Regions from separate parts of the Homo sapiens genome. Here region 2 is linked to region 1. Evidence: promoter capture Hi-C in human tissues and cell types (Jung and others, 2019). All regions are on one chromosome and are shown on one strand. The core of a region is centred on a gene start or on the middle of the fragment in contact, and the rest is flanking DNA. Distances in the headings are between cores, read along the strand shown. Region 1 holds the start of LENEP (lens epithelial protein). Region 2 overlaps KCNN3 (potassium calcium-activated channel subfamily N member 3).

Region 1 (5,828 bases), core at 2,453-4,952:
ATGTGCAGGCCACTATCCCTGACGACAGGGAGGTCACAGTCCTGCTGGGGAGATGAGAGATTTACATACCTGAACCAGGGATGCGTGCTTAGATTTGAGAGGTGAAAGGTCAGAGTGGGCTTCCCAGAGGAAGTGGGTCTAATGGATGGAAAGGACAAGGAAAAGGGAGAAGGGGTGAGAGTCTGTCCTAGGGGCCAACGAGAACAGTGAGCTGTTTCAGGGGAGCCATTTCCTTGTCCATGCTCACAAGCCTGTGGATTCTTCCCCCTCTGCAGGAAATTACCTGATGTTCCAAACCCCCTCCAGATCCTGTATATCCGCAGCATCTCCCCTTTCCCTGAGCTGGAACAGTTTCTACAGGACACTATCAAGAGGTACTAGGGGCCTGGAGGTTTGGGCTCCAAGAGAAGCTTGACAGAGCCCACGCCCGACCCCTACTTCTGTTTCTTCCTAAGGTATAATCTGCAGATGTTGGAAGCTGAGGGCAGCATGAAGCAGGCCCTGGGTGAACTGCAGGCACGGCACCCCCAGCTGGAGGCTGTCCTTATGGGCACCCGCCGGACTGACCCCTACTCCTGTAGCCTCTGCCCTTTCAGCCCCACTGACCCAGGCTGGCCCGCATTCATGCGCATCAACCCACTGCTGGTAATGGGGAAGAGGGTTTATCACCTTCAGTCTCACGTGCCCCAGCAGTCACTGCACCCTAGCTCACCTGCAGTAGTGGGGAGGCTAGAGCCTGGAACCTGGATGAAGGGGCCTCATCATCCAAGGGAGGCAGTGCTATCTGTTCATTCATCCTTTTGACCAATATTTATTGAGCCCAAATTCAATAGCAGGCATTGCACTTCCTACTGTGGATAGAATAGTGACTTAGACTTGTGCTGTCCAATATAGCCATTAATTATTTATTTATACTTAAATTTTAATTAATTAGAATGAAATACATATGACTAAAAACCACTGAATTATATACTTTAAAAGGATGAATTTGATGGTATGTGGATACCTCAATTTTTAAAATTAAGTACAATTAAAAATTCAGTTCTGGCTGGGCGCAGTGGCTCACGCCTGTAATCCCAGCACTTTGGGAGGCCATGGTGGGCAGATCACTTGAGGCCAGGAGTTCGAGACCAGCCTGGCCAACATGGCGAAACCCTGTCTCTACTAAAAATACAAAAAATTAGCCAGGCGTGGTGGCCTGTAGTCCTAGTTACTCGAGAGGCTGAGGCAGGAGAATTGCTTGAACCCAGGAGACGGAGGTTGCAGTGAGCTGAGATGGCACCACTGTACTCCAGCCTGGGCAACAGAACAAGACTCTGTCTCAAAAAAAAAAAAAAAAAAAATATATATATATATATGTATATATATATATACACACACACATACACAGGCCGGGCGTAGTGGCTTACACCTGTAATCCCTGCACTTTGGGAGGCTGAGGCAGGTGGATCGCCTGAGGTCAGGAGATCGAGACCAGCCTAACCAAAATGATGAAACCCAGTCTCTACTAAAAATACAAAAATTAGCGGAGCGTGGTGGCAGGCACCTGTAATCCCAACTACTCAGGAGGCTGAGGTAGGAGAATCACTTGAACCCAGGAGGCAGAGGTTGCAGTGAGCCAAGATGGCACCACTATACTCCAGCCTGAGCAACAGAGTGAGACTCCGTCCAAACAAACAAAAAAAAAATACAGTTATTCAGTTGTACTAGCCACATTTCAAATGACCACCATATTAGACAGTAGAGATACAGAACATTTCCATCATCACAGGAAGTTCTGGCCAGGCACAGTGGCTCACACCTGTAACCCCAGCACTCTGGGAGGCCGAGGTGGGCTGATCAATGCCTGTAGTCCCAGCTACTCAGGCTGAGGCGGGAAGATCGCTTGAGCCAGGGAAGTCGAGGCTGTAGTGAGCCATGATCATGCCAGTGCACTCCAGCCTGGGCAACAGTAAAGGCCCTGTCTAAAAAAAATAGGGCTGGGCACGGTGGCACACGCCTGTAATCCCAGCACTTTGGGAGGCCGAGGCAGGCACATCACGAGGTCAGGATTTCAAGACCAGCCTGACCAACATGGTGAAACCCCATCTCTACTAAAAAAATACAAAAATTAGCCGGCTGTGGTGGCGCATGCCTGTAATCCCAGCTACTCAGGAGGCTGAGGCAGGAGAATTGCTTAAATCTGGGAAGCGGAGGTTGCAGTGAGCCAAGATCGCGCCACTGCACTCCAGCCTGGGTGACAGAGCAAGACTCCGTCTCAAAAAAAAAAAAAAAAATAGGGCCGGGCATGGTGGCACACGCCTGTAATCCCAGCACTTTGGGAGGCCGTGGCGGGCGGATCATGAAGTCAGGAGATGGAGACCATCCTGGCTACACAGTGAAATCCCGTCTCTACTAAAAATACAAAAAATTAGCTGGGCACAGTGGTGGGCGCCTGTAGTGCCAGCTACTCGGGAGGCTGAGGCAGGAGAATGGCATGAACCCGGGAGGCAGAGGTTGCAGTGAGCCAAGACCACGCCACTGCACTCCAGCCTGGGCGACAGAGCCAGACTCCGTCTCAAAAAAAAAATAGACGGTTTCTCCCTGTCCTCAAGCTCCACCCTTGCACTAGAGGGTGGTTCAAGAATGGAAAGCAGAGAGTGGAGAAGATGAAGTCCTTCTCTTTCTCTTTGCATACATAGAGCAAGCTATACCAGAGAATCAGATAGCAAGCCCTCCCTCAGAGGCCAAGGGAGCAGAAGAGCCATGGATGGGCCCCTTCCCAGGACAGCAGGGGTAGAAGTGGGAAAGGTGAGCATTTGTGACTATTCTATTACTCTGACCTCCCAGGACTGGACCTACAGAGACATCTGGGATTTTCTGCGTCAGCTGTTTGTCCCATACTGTATCCTGTATGACCGAGGGTAAGGGTATTAGGGGAAGGGAATGGGTAAGGGAGTTTTTAGGGTGCTGGGATAGGGAGGGCCAATAGGATCGCCCACCCTACCACATGCTTGCCCTCCACCCTCCCTGCTCCAGATACACATCACTGGGGAGTCGGGAGAATACCGTGCGGAACCCGGCCCTGAAGTGCCTGAGCCCAGGAGGACACCCCACATACCGTCCAGCCTATCTACTGGAGAACGAAGAAGAGGAGCGGAACTCCCGCACATGACCTCCCACCCTAGGAGGGAGGGAAGGACACCGTCCTAGGGTATAACCTGGCAATAAACCGTGCCTCTCACTGTGCCTGTTGCTCTAGCTGTGTCTTCCTGCTCCAGAGGATGGGAGAAGCAGAAGTGGGTCAAATGCTGCCAGCTCTGACTGGCTGTGCTCACTCTAAGGGGCCCAGGGGCAGGGCAGAACAGGCTGGAAAGGAGCTCTCACTGATGGTTCTCAATGTCAGCCTCAGCAGGAGCCCACCAGAGGGCGAAAGCAGGAGTTGTGCCAACCACTGGGAAAAGGGCAATCAGGCAGGGCACCACCTGGGCTGGAAGAGGGGAAGCTGCCTTGGCCTAGCTGTGGAGGATGAAAGATGGAGTGGCCAGGCCCTCCCTCCCACTAACCCCACCCTCCCATCCCTGTCTAGAGGGGCTGACTCAGCCTGTTCCCAGGCCTAGAACCTTCCCTTTGCTAGACCCTGGATCCTTTGTCTCTGTAGTCATGAGGCTGAAGGGGGTGGGGACAGTGTTGATAAAAGGCACTAGAGGCAGCTCCCACACCCTTCCTCGGAACTGTTGCCCACATGCAGCCCCGGACACAGCCCCTAGCCCAAACCCTACCCTTCTTCCTCGGAGGGGCCCCTCGAGACACTGGGCTGCGGGTGCCTGTCATTAAGATGGGCACAGGGTGGGAGGGCTTCCAGCGGACCCTGAAGGAAGTCGCCTACATCCTCCTCTGCTGCTGGTGTATCAAGGAACTGCTGGATTAATGGTAGCAGGGAACTGCCTCCTCTCCCCACCAGCACCATGGCTGGCATCGCTCAGGTGGGCAGGGTAGAGTAAACAGGAGGCATAGCTGCAGCTTCTGTGGCAGAGCTTGCCTTAGCTTCTCATTCTCTTCTTTAGCCCCCAGCCCAATTGCCATCAAGACTCCTGAAGCCAGCTGTGCTTGACCAAGGATGGGCCATAAACAATGAGTAAACAGTAAAGTGTGGATCCTGCTTTGAGCTGTGTCATCTAGCAGACCTGCCTCATCTCTGAGCCTCCTTCATTCCCAACCCCTGCCTCTGGTGGACCTCTGGTGGGCAGGAGCTTGGACTGCTCTGGCTAGGACCCCAGTAAGATTGTGGCAAGACCTGGCACTCCTCCAAGCTTGGCACAGTGAGCCCACCAGCTCAGATGGTTGATCTTACCATACCCTCATAGTACCAAGAATGGACTGCCCCCTAAGAAACCTGTTTGAGAATCACTGAATTATAAATATAATCCATAGGCCTTGAGGCCCAAGATTATAAGTGTCTAAAGGGGAATCAGAAAAAGTCAGCACTAGAACGGTCTGGGAGCAAGGGTGCAGACCAGGGAGGGAAGGAGCTTGTCCTGAATAGAACCAAGATTGAAAGCCAGGTTTTCTGACTCACTGGTTCCTGAGTGGGGAGGGTGGAAGACAGTTCAGGTTCCTCTCAATCTGTGGGTAAGGAGGGGACCCAGCTTGAGTAGGGTCTTCATCTGTGAGGCCAAGGGTGTGTGGAAACCCAGAGGACCCAGCCCTTTCCCAAATAGAAGACCTGGTCCAGGCAGCTTCCTGCCTCTGAGGATCTTGGGGAAAGCACTGCGCTGAGGCTAGTCCCCAGCTCATCAAGGAAGTAGGACCCCATGAGCTACAAGAGCTCCCAGCTCACATACAAAGTTACCAGAGAAAGACACCTGTGTGGCCACACAGGTCCCTCAGGCTTATCATGACACAGCCCTATCAGGACATAAACAGCTAGATTGAGCAGAATTGGCTCTTTACTTCCTCTTGGTAGCCACAGCTGGTATTTTCCATGAGTTACTCCCGGTGGTAGATATACACCAGCCATGTGTATCGTCTTGCTCAGGGGGTGCTTATGCTTACTGATCTGCCCACCCACAGCCCCCCAAACCTCAGAGCCAGCCTGTTTGGGACTGTTCAGTATTTCCCTGGGATTCCCATCCAGCATTCTCTGGCCCCTCCTGGGGGGCCAGTTATCATCCCCCAGCCCTTTGTCACTTGGGGCACTGGCCTGGAGATTATAGATAGTGCCCTCTTCCTCCCTGCCTGGGACCAGCTCTTCCTCAGCCTTCTTCTTAGTTAACTCTTTTTTTTTTCTAGATTCTTTTTGTAAAGGTGATATATGCCCAGAGTAAAGAACTTTAGGCCAGGCCAGGTACAGTGGCTCACACCTGTAATCCCAGCACTTTGGGAGGCAGAGGCGGGCAGATCACCTGAGGTCAGGAGTTCTAGACCAGCCTGGCCAACATGGTGAAACTGCATCTCTACTAAAAATAATTAGCTGGGCGAGGTGGTGAGTGCCTGTAATCCCAGCTACTTGGGAGGCTGAGACAGGAGAATCACTTGAACCCGGGAGGCAGAGTTTGCGGTGAGCTGAGATCATGCCACTGCGCTCCAGCCTGGGGGACAAGAATGAAACTCTGTCTCAAAAAAAAAAAAAAAAAAAAAGGCCGGGCGCGGTGGCTCACATCTGTAATCCCAGCACTTTGGGACAAGGCCGAGGTGGGTGGATCACTTGAGGTCAGGAGTTCGAGACCAGCCTGGCCAGCATGGTGAAACCCCATCTCTACTAAAAATACAAAAAAATTAGCTGGACGTGGTGGCACATGCCTGTAGTCCCAGCTACCTGGGAGGCTGAGGCAGGAGAATGGCTTGAA
Region 2 (6,379 bases), core at 1,440-3,939, 230 kb before region 1:
TTTCTCTGATTGCTAAAACTGAGTAATAGGGCTTTATTTTAAAATTCTCCTCTACATAGGACAACGCATCTGGCATGCTTTTACTAATCCCTTCTAGCCTTCTCCTCTCAAATTTTTAATCTGAGGATTTGCAACCCTCTAATTATTATTGAATTATTGCTTTAATTTCATACATCCACTCTTTCCAGAATCTACTTTTTCTTTGACATTAGAATTTGGAGTTTTGCAACTACGCGTAAGTTTAGTCTTGATTTCATGTTTGCCTGTGTGAACCAATGTCTGCCTTTCTTTACAACATTTCATTATTAAGATCTTAATTGTGATTCAGTCTTTGGTCAACTGGCAAACGAGTTCCCCCCAAAAGTAAACTCCAAGAATGACTTTTGTTGCCCTTTGGTTGCCTCATTCAAATGACAGGGTGGATCCAAATTTAAAATACTGTGGAACTGTTCTAATGACTCTGAATTTAGGGTTCCTGAGGGAGAGTCAGCTCTGGGATGCCTGTGTGCCTCTAGGATTGTTTCACCTTATGATTCAATAAATTTTCCAGAAAAAGAATGTATTGGGGTATGTCTAGGGGTGGCTCCTCCTGTCCCCCACATTCTAACTGGAAAAGAGGAATCCGTTTCGATCTGCCTACTCTGATCTACCATCCCCACACACAACATCCCCTTACCTAGGCCAATTCTGAAAATGTTTACTGTGCGTATATTTCTGATTATGCTTTTATCCAAATTTATCATTTCTTCCTCTGAAATAACTCTAATTCTTAGATTTCACCTGGATCCTATAGCCTCCAGTTCTGTCCTATTCATCCTTTCTCTTATCTCTTCTGCATTCTGAGAGAGCTTTAAATTTTTTAAGTTTGTCTCCACATTCCACATTTTTAAAAATGTAGTGCCATCAATGTGGATTTTCATTTTGCTAAAACAATTTTAGTTTTCTGGAACTCTGTGCTTATGTGAACCAGATACATTTTCATTTCACATCTGCCCACTCTTCTCTATCATAAGGATCATATATATTCTGGCACCCTATTAGAGATGCCCAAGACTCTTCTTTCTTTTTCCTTTTTTTTTTTTTTTTTTGAGACAGGGTCTCACTCTGTCACCCAGGCTGGAGTGCAGTGGCGCAATCTCTGCTCGCTGCACTCTTGACCTCCCAGGTTAGGTGATCCCCCCACCTCAGCCTCCTGAGTCTACAGATGCACCACCACTCCCGGCTAATGTTTTTTTTGGTTTTTTTTTGTTTTGTTTTGTTTTGTTTTTGGCAGAGATGGGTTTTTGCTGTGTTGGTCAGGCTGGTCTCCAACTCCTGACCTCAAGCGATCCACCTGCTTTGACCTCCCAAAGTGTTGGGATTACAGGCGTGAGCCACTGTGCCTGGCCACCCAAGACTCTTCTAATGTTGCTTTTTGTTTTTCATAATTAAACATTTTTCAGGAATCTTCAGGATTATTTTCCTCTTCCTTAATGCTGCAGGTTTTTCTCAAAGGCCTCCAGCAGGATCCCTGTCGCCTCCCCACCTTCCCCCTCCCCAGCCATCTATCTCTCCGCCTGGCACCAGAAGGGGATCGCTACAGGCTGCTCCTTCCCTACAGGAGGCTAACTTCTCACTTCTCCAGCTAGAGGGCAGGGTTCCTGGGTCTAGCAGGCTTCATCCCATGTGGTAGGCTACTTTCCTATCCTCTCTAACTAGTCCTCTGATATCATAAACCAGTGGTTTGCAAACTTTTAAAATCATGGGCTCCTACCAATTAAAAATTTTTTGAGCATGCCCTCCTCCATTATACATATATTTATTATAAATTACAGACATGTATTGCTCTCTATCCATTTATTAAATACTAGCCAGGCTTTATATATATATATATATATATATATATGTAGAAGTTCTGATCATTTCTCCCAATAGTCCCATGGATCACTGTGCGTGTGCCCCACATTGGAGGTTATAACTCAAACCAAAGCAGTCCATGAGGAACCACAGTGCCTGGCCCCACTGTTCCCAGGCTCTGCTCAGTTCTGCTCAGCCTACAGGGTTTAGCTTGCAGGCTTCCATCAACCCCATGTAGGGTGCTTCATCCCTGTAATGACCACTTTCCTACTGTTTTGTTTTGGGGTTTGTTTTTTTTTTTTTGAGATGGAGTCTGGCTCTGTCACCCAGGCTGGAGTGCAGTGGCGTGATCTCGGCTCACTGCAAGCTCCGCCTCCTGGGTTCACGCCATTCTCCTGTCCCAGCCTCCCGAGTAGCTGGGACTACAGGTGTGTGCCACCATGCCCGGCTAATTTTTTTGTATTTTTAGTAGAGACGGGGGTTTCACCGTGTTAGCCAGGATGGTCTCGATCTCCTGACCTCGTGATCTGCCCGCCTCGGCCTCCCAAAGTGCTGGGATTACAGGCGTGAGCCACCGAGCCTGGCCATTCCTACTGTTTTCTTGGAGTGGAAGTACCCCTTCTTGGAGGGGGTAGGAGGTTGTGGGAAGGAGATGGGAGGAGGAGGGAGCTGTGGTCTTGCTTCCTGCTGCTGGCAAGTGCAGGCCTGGGTGTCTGAGGCAGGGGCAGAAGAGAGTACAGCAAGGAAGCCTCTTTTTATCTCCTTACAATGGGAGTGGTGGCTCTCTTAATGAGAGAAAGAATGGGCCACAAATTGTTTTTCTCCTGCTTTAGGAGCCAGATCTCCAGAATAAAATTTCTCATTAAAATATCAGTATGCCAAAAGTTAACCAGCAAAATAAAAAACCTGTTGACAGACTGGAAGGCCTGGGACACTGAGACAGCCTGTTGCAGAATTTGGAGCCTCAGGAGGGACCAAAGTGAAGGGTCCAAAGGGTCCGAAGGGAATCCACTCAAGAGGACAGTAAGGTCATTTATAAAGCATGGCTGTGACAGCAAGGCTCACCCCACTTCATCAATGTTATGGGAGGCCTTGTTGCTCCTCCCAAGGAGATAAACATACAAAGGTGAGCTGGCAGGCCACTGCACTGCTCAAGGCACGCTAGGAAGGCTGGCTCTCCAACCTGCTGCCGCAGTGAGGACCCGGGGCCTCAGATGGTCTCTCCACCAGTAAAGCTGCTTGGCACTTGACAGTGTAAAATCAGGAGGTTCCTCCCTGAGGGAGGTGGGCAGGCAGCCAGGAGAATCCCAGAGAATGCAGAGTGCCACAACTGTCAGGCCTCGGAACCCATGATGTAATGCCTCTCTGGGGGCCAAGGAAAACAAGCCCACTGTTGTCACTGCCCTCCCAGCAACCAGGCGCTGCCCTCCCCATGGCACGGCTGTTCTGCGTAATTATGATCCCACTTTCTCTCCTTGGGAGGAGGAAATATGAAAAACCTTTGTTGTCACATAAAAACCAACCCAAGATATGAGAACTGTCTTTTAAAATACATCTTGCTGTAGAGAGATTTCCATAGCAACTTCAGAAGTGTGTGTATACAACTAGAGATAAGTCCAGGCTGATGAAAGCTACCTGGAATGTGAACAGGCTCTGGGCATCAGCAGCTGTGGATTTTTCTAGAACCTGTCATGCTGCTGTGTGACCCTGGGCAAGTCACTTACCCTCTCTGATGCCTAAGGTGATAGAATCATCATTAGATCAGGCTGAGAGAGATCAAGGCATCCTGTCCACACTACCCTGGTCTGACGCTTCAGTTCCCCAAAGCTTCCCCTGCTTCCAGCTTCTGTCCAGTCTCTGGCTGAATAAGTCCTGGCTGAAGGCCTCTGCCAATCTTACTTATTATTTGACATTGGGAAACAGAATGATCATTTAAGCTTGATTCTAAAAATAGTGCTTAGTCTTGGTAAGAGAAGTGCTTTGCCTGTTTAGGAAACAATATATTAACGGGGCAGATTCCTGGGAAACAGTCTGTGAGATGCTGAGATTTGGGGGTGGGAGTTTTACTGGGGCTGCTCTCAGGATCAATACCTCTGGGGTATAGAGGAAGTTCCCGGATGCAGTGGTAACAGAGGCCTTAGGCGATCCCTCAGGGACCCTGGAGCCTGGCTGAGTGTCCTACTAGAAGCAAACGGGGTTAGGCCTTTGAACTCCCACACTGACAAATCCCCTCGGGAGCTTGCTGCCCCCAGGCAAGGGGTTTGACCTGAAGAGAGGGACTCAGTCACAACCCCAGCTAAGGGAAGGAGAGCCCGGGTCCTGGAGGGGGCATCTGTCCCCTTCATGTTGACATGAAGCAACATGTCATCCACTACATGGATGTGTTTGAATTGGACATGAAGGCAGCCCAGGAGGCTAGTATGATAACATGGTCAAGACCATAGGCAGCAGAGGCAGAGAAAACAGCAAGACTGGGATTCACATGTTAGTCTCAGTGGCCTTAAGACTCTGAGATTGGGAAAGTTGCCAGTAGAGTAGAGGCCAAGATTTCCTCGTATGTGCAGGATTCAGCCTGGGTTGGTGACACACACATGGAAGTTCAGAGTCAGAAACCAGTTCAGATTTTGGCTCCACGCTTATTATTAATAGCTCTGTGACCTCGGGCCAGTTACTTTCTATCAGTTTCCTCAACTCTCCCATGAGCCTTCATGTCCAATTCAAACACATCCATGTAGTGGATGACATGTTGCTTCACCCAAATGCCCCTCCAGGACCCGGGCTCTCCTTCCCTCAGGCAAGGTACCTCTCTCATAGATCTATTGTGAGGGCAAGCTGGGATGACATATGGATTTTACACAGAACTAGCACAGGGGTGCAACAATAACATCCACCATGCTTTAATACACCTCATGTTATACCTAAGTCTTTGGTCAAATGGCCTTTTCGCAAGAGAAGGGAACTTTCAGAGAATTTCCGATTTGCTCATTGTTCCTCTGTGCCTTGGTCTTAGCGGGGGCTTGTGACCCATGTCTGCAGAGAGAGAGAGAGAGACCCAGTGGCCCACCAGGGACCAAACTAACCCAGCCTCAGCTTGGAAGCTATGGAAGGCCATGCAATATCAAATAAGGTGCATCATCTAAGTACTTTGCAAACTACATTCTTTAAAACAAGCTTATTTTCCAGTGAAAAATAGTCACCCCTTCTTGTGATAGGTTCAATAAACTACGAAACTCACTTGCAGGTACTTTGTTGCATGTTCAGCCATCTGAAATACATGCCAGAGAGCATCTGAGGAAGTGAAAGACTTCAAATAGCTTAAAGGGCTACGCAAATTCAATTACTATGTTAATAGACAACATGGCTTCCATCATTTAGAAAGGAAAACAGGAAGAGTATAGGCCCATGTATGGTACAAGTTGGGCTGTTCTAATTAAAAGAAGGCAGCACAAAATTCCCAAGAGTTATCAAGGGATCTGCACTATTATTATTAACTTTCACCATCATTGGATTGCAGTACATAGTGCATATATACACCTTGTTTGACTCTAACAATAAATCCTGTGTCCAGCTTTCAGATAAGAAAATTGAGGTCCAGAGAGGTGAAGCGACCAGCACAATGTTGCTCAGCTAACAGTACCATGAAGAGTTTGGGGTCGGAACCCAAGCACATGCTTTCTCCATTGGGGGAAGAGTGTCTGCTTACCAGAGAAGGCTCATGAAGCCCTGTGCAGTGTGGTCCCACTCAGAGCAGATGTTGCAATGTCAGCTGCTGAGTAATGGCGAGGTTCTGAATAGGTGAGCATGGTGTGTCCCTGGGGCTCTGTGTGTGAGAAAGGTCTTCCAACACTGCACTGGCTCTCAGAACCTGAACCTGCATCCTGGAGCCTGAACCCTTGTTCTGCGGCAGCAGAATGCCCTCTCAGTTTGACCGTGTGTCTGTTGGCCAAAACGCTGAAAGAAATGTCTGCAAACAGAATGTCTCAAAAATAGGTAGGAGATACGATTCAAGGCACCCATGTAGGGTGTGTTGAGGCTAACTCCTCTCCAGACTTCTTTGTCTTGTTTGATCTCTGCTAGGACACTGGTGCATGGAAGATTTGGCAATATAATCGTAAGTGTTGACAAATTAAGGGCGACTACCAGGATTTGTGTAAATTACACAGGATGCTTCACCATACCTCCCAACATAATAAAAATAATCTATCTCAAGCAAACATAGCTTCATTCTATCTCAAGTGATCCTCATTTTAAAATGAGGAAACTGTAGCCCAGAGAGGTTAAGTAACTTGCCCTAGGTCTCACAGCTACTTAGGAGCAGAATCACGGTTTCTAACCTAGATTTAGACTCCACATGTCAAATAGATTAAAATGAATATCCAGGGCTGGGTGCAGTGGCTCACGCCTGTAATCCCAGAATTTTGGGAGGCCAAGGTAGGAGGATCACTTGAAGCCAGGAGTTCAAGACCAGCCTGGCCAACATGGTGAAACCCCATCTCTACTAAAAACACAAAAATTAGCCTGGTATGGTGGCGCATGCCTGTAA

The links. The method cuts DNA at HindIII sites, captures the fragments that hold promoters and counts their contacts. A contact is called where the count stands out against the background at its distance.
Region 2: a contact is called between a fragment that was not itself captured here and the fragment with the promoter of LENEP in region 1, in 1 of the 25 tissues and cell types used here (H1 embryonic stem cells).

What each region holds. Positions count from the first base shown.
Region 1 is chr1:154,989,884-154,995,711 of GRCh38, forward strand. It overlaps LENEP (lens epithelial protein), which reads left to right and starts at 3,703. Exons shown (of 1, transcript NM_001394530.1): 1 at 3,703-4,432. The coding sequence starts at 3,725. The coding sequence ends at 3,910. FLAD1 (flavin adenine dinucleotide synthetase 1) reads left to right here. Exons shown (of 7, transcript NM_025207.5): 4 at 276-374; 5 at 456-645; 6 at 2,830-2,903; 7 at 3,019-3,228. The coding sequence ends at 3,154. The HindIII fragment of the contact is 8,242 bases long and covers 1-5,220 here.
Region 2 is chr1:154,764,559-154,770,937 of GRCh38, forward strand. All of the region lies in intron 3 of KCNN3 (potassium calcium-activated channel subfamily N member 3), which reads right to left. Among named protein-coding and RNA genes, the nearest start is that of KCNN3, 100 kb to the right of the region's middle. The HindIII fragment of the contact is 3,402 bases long and covers 989-4,390 here.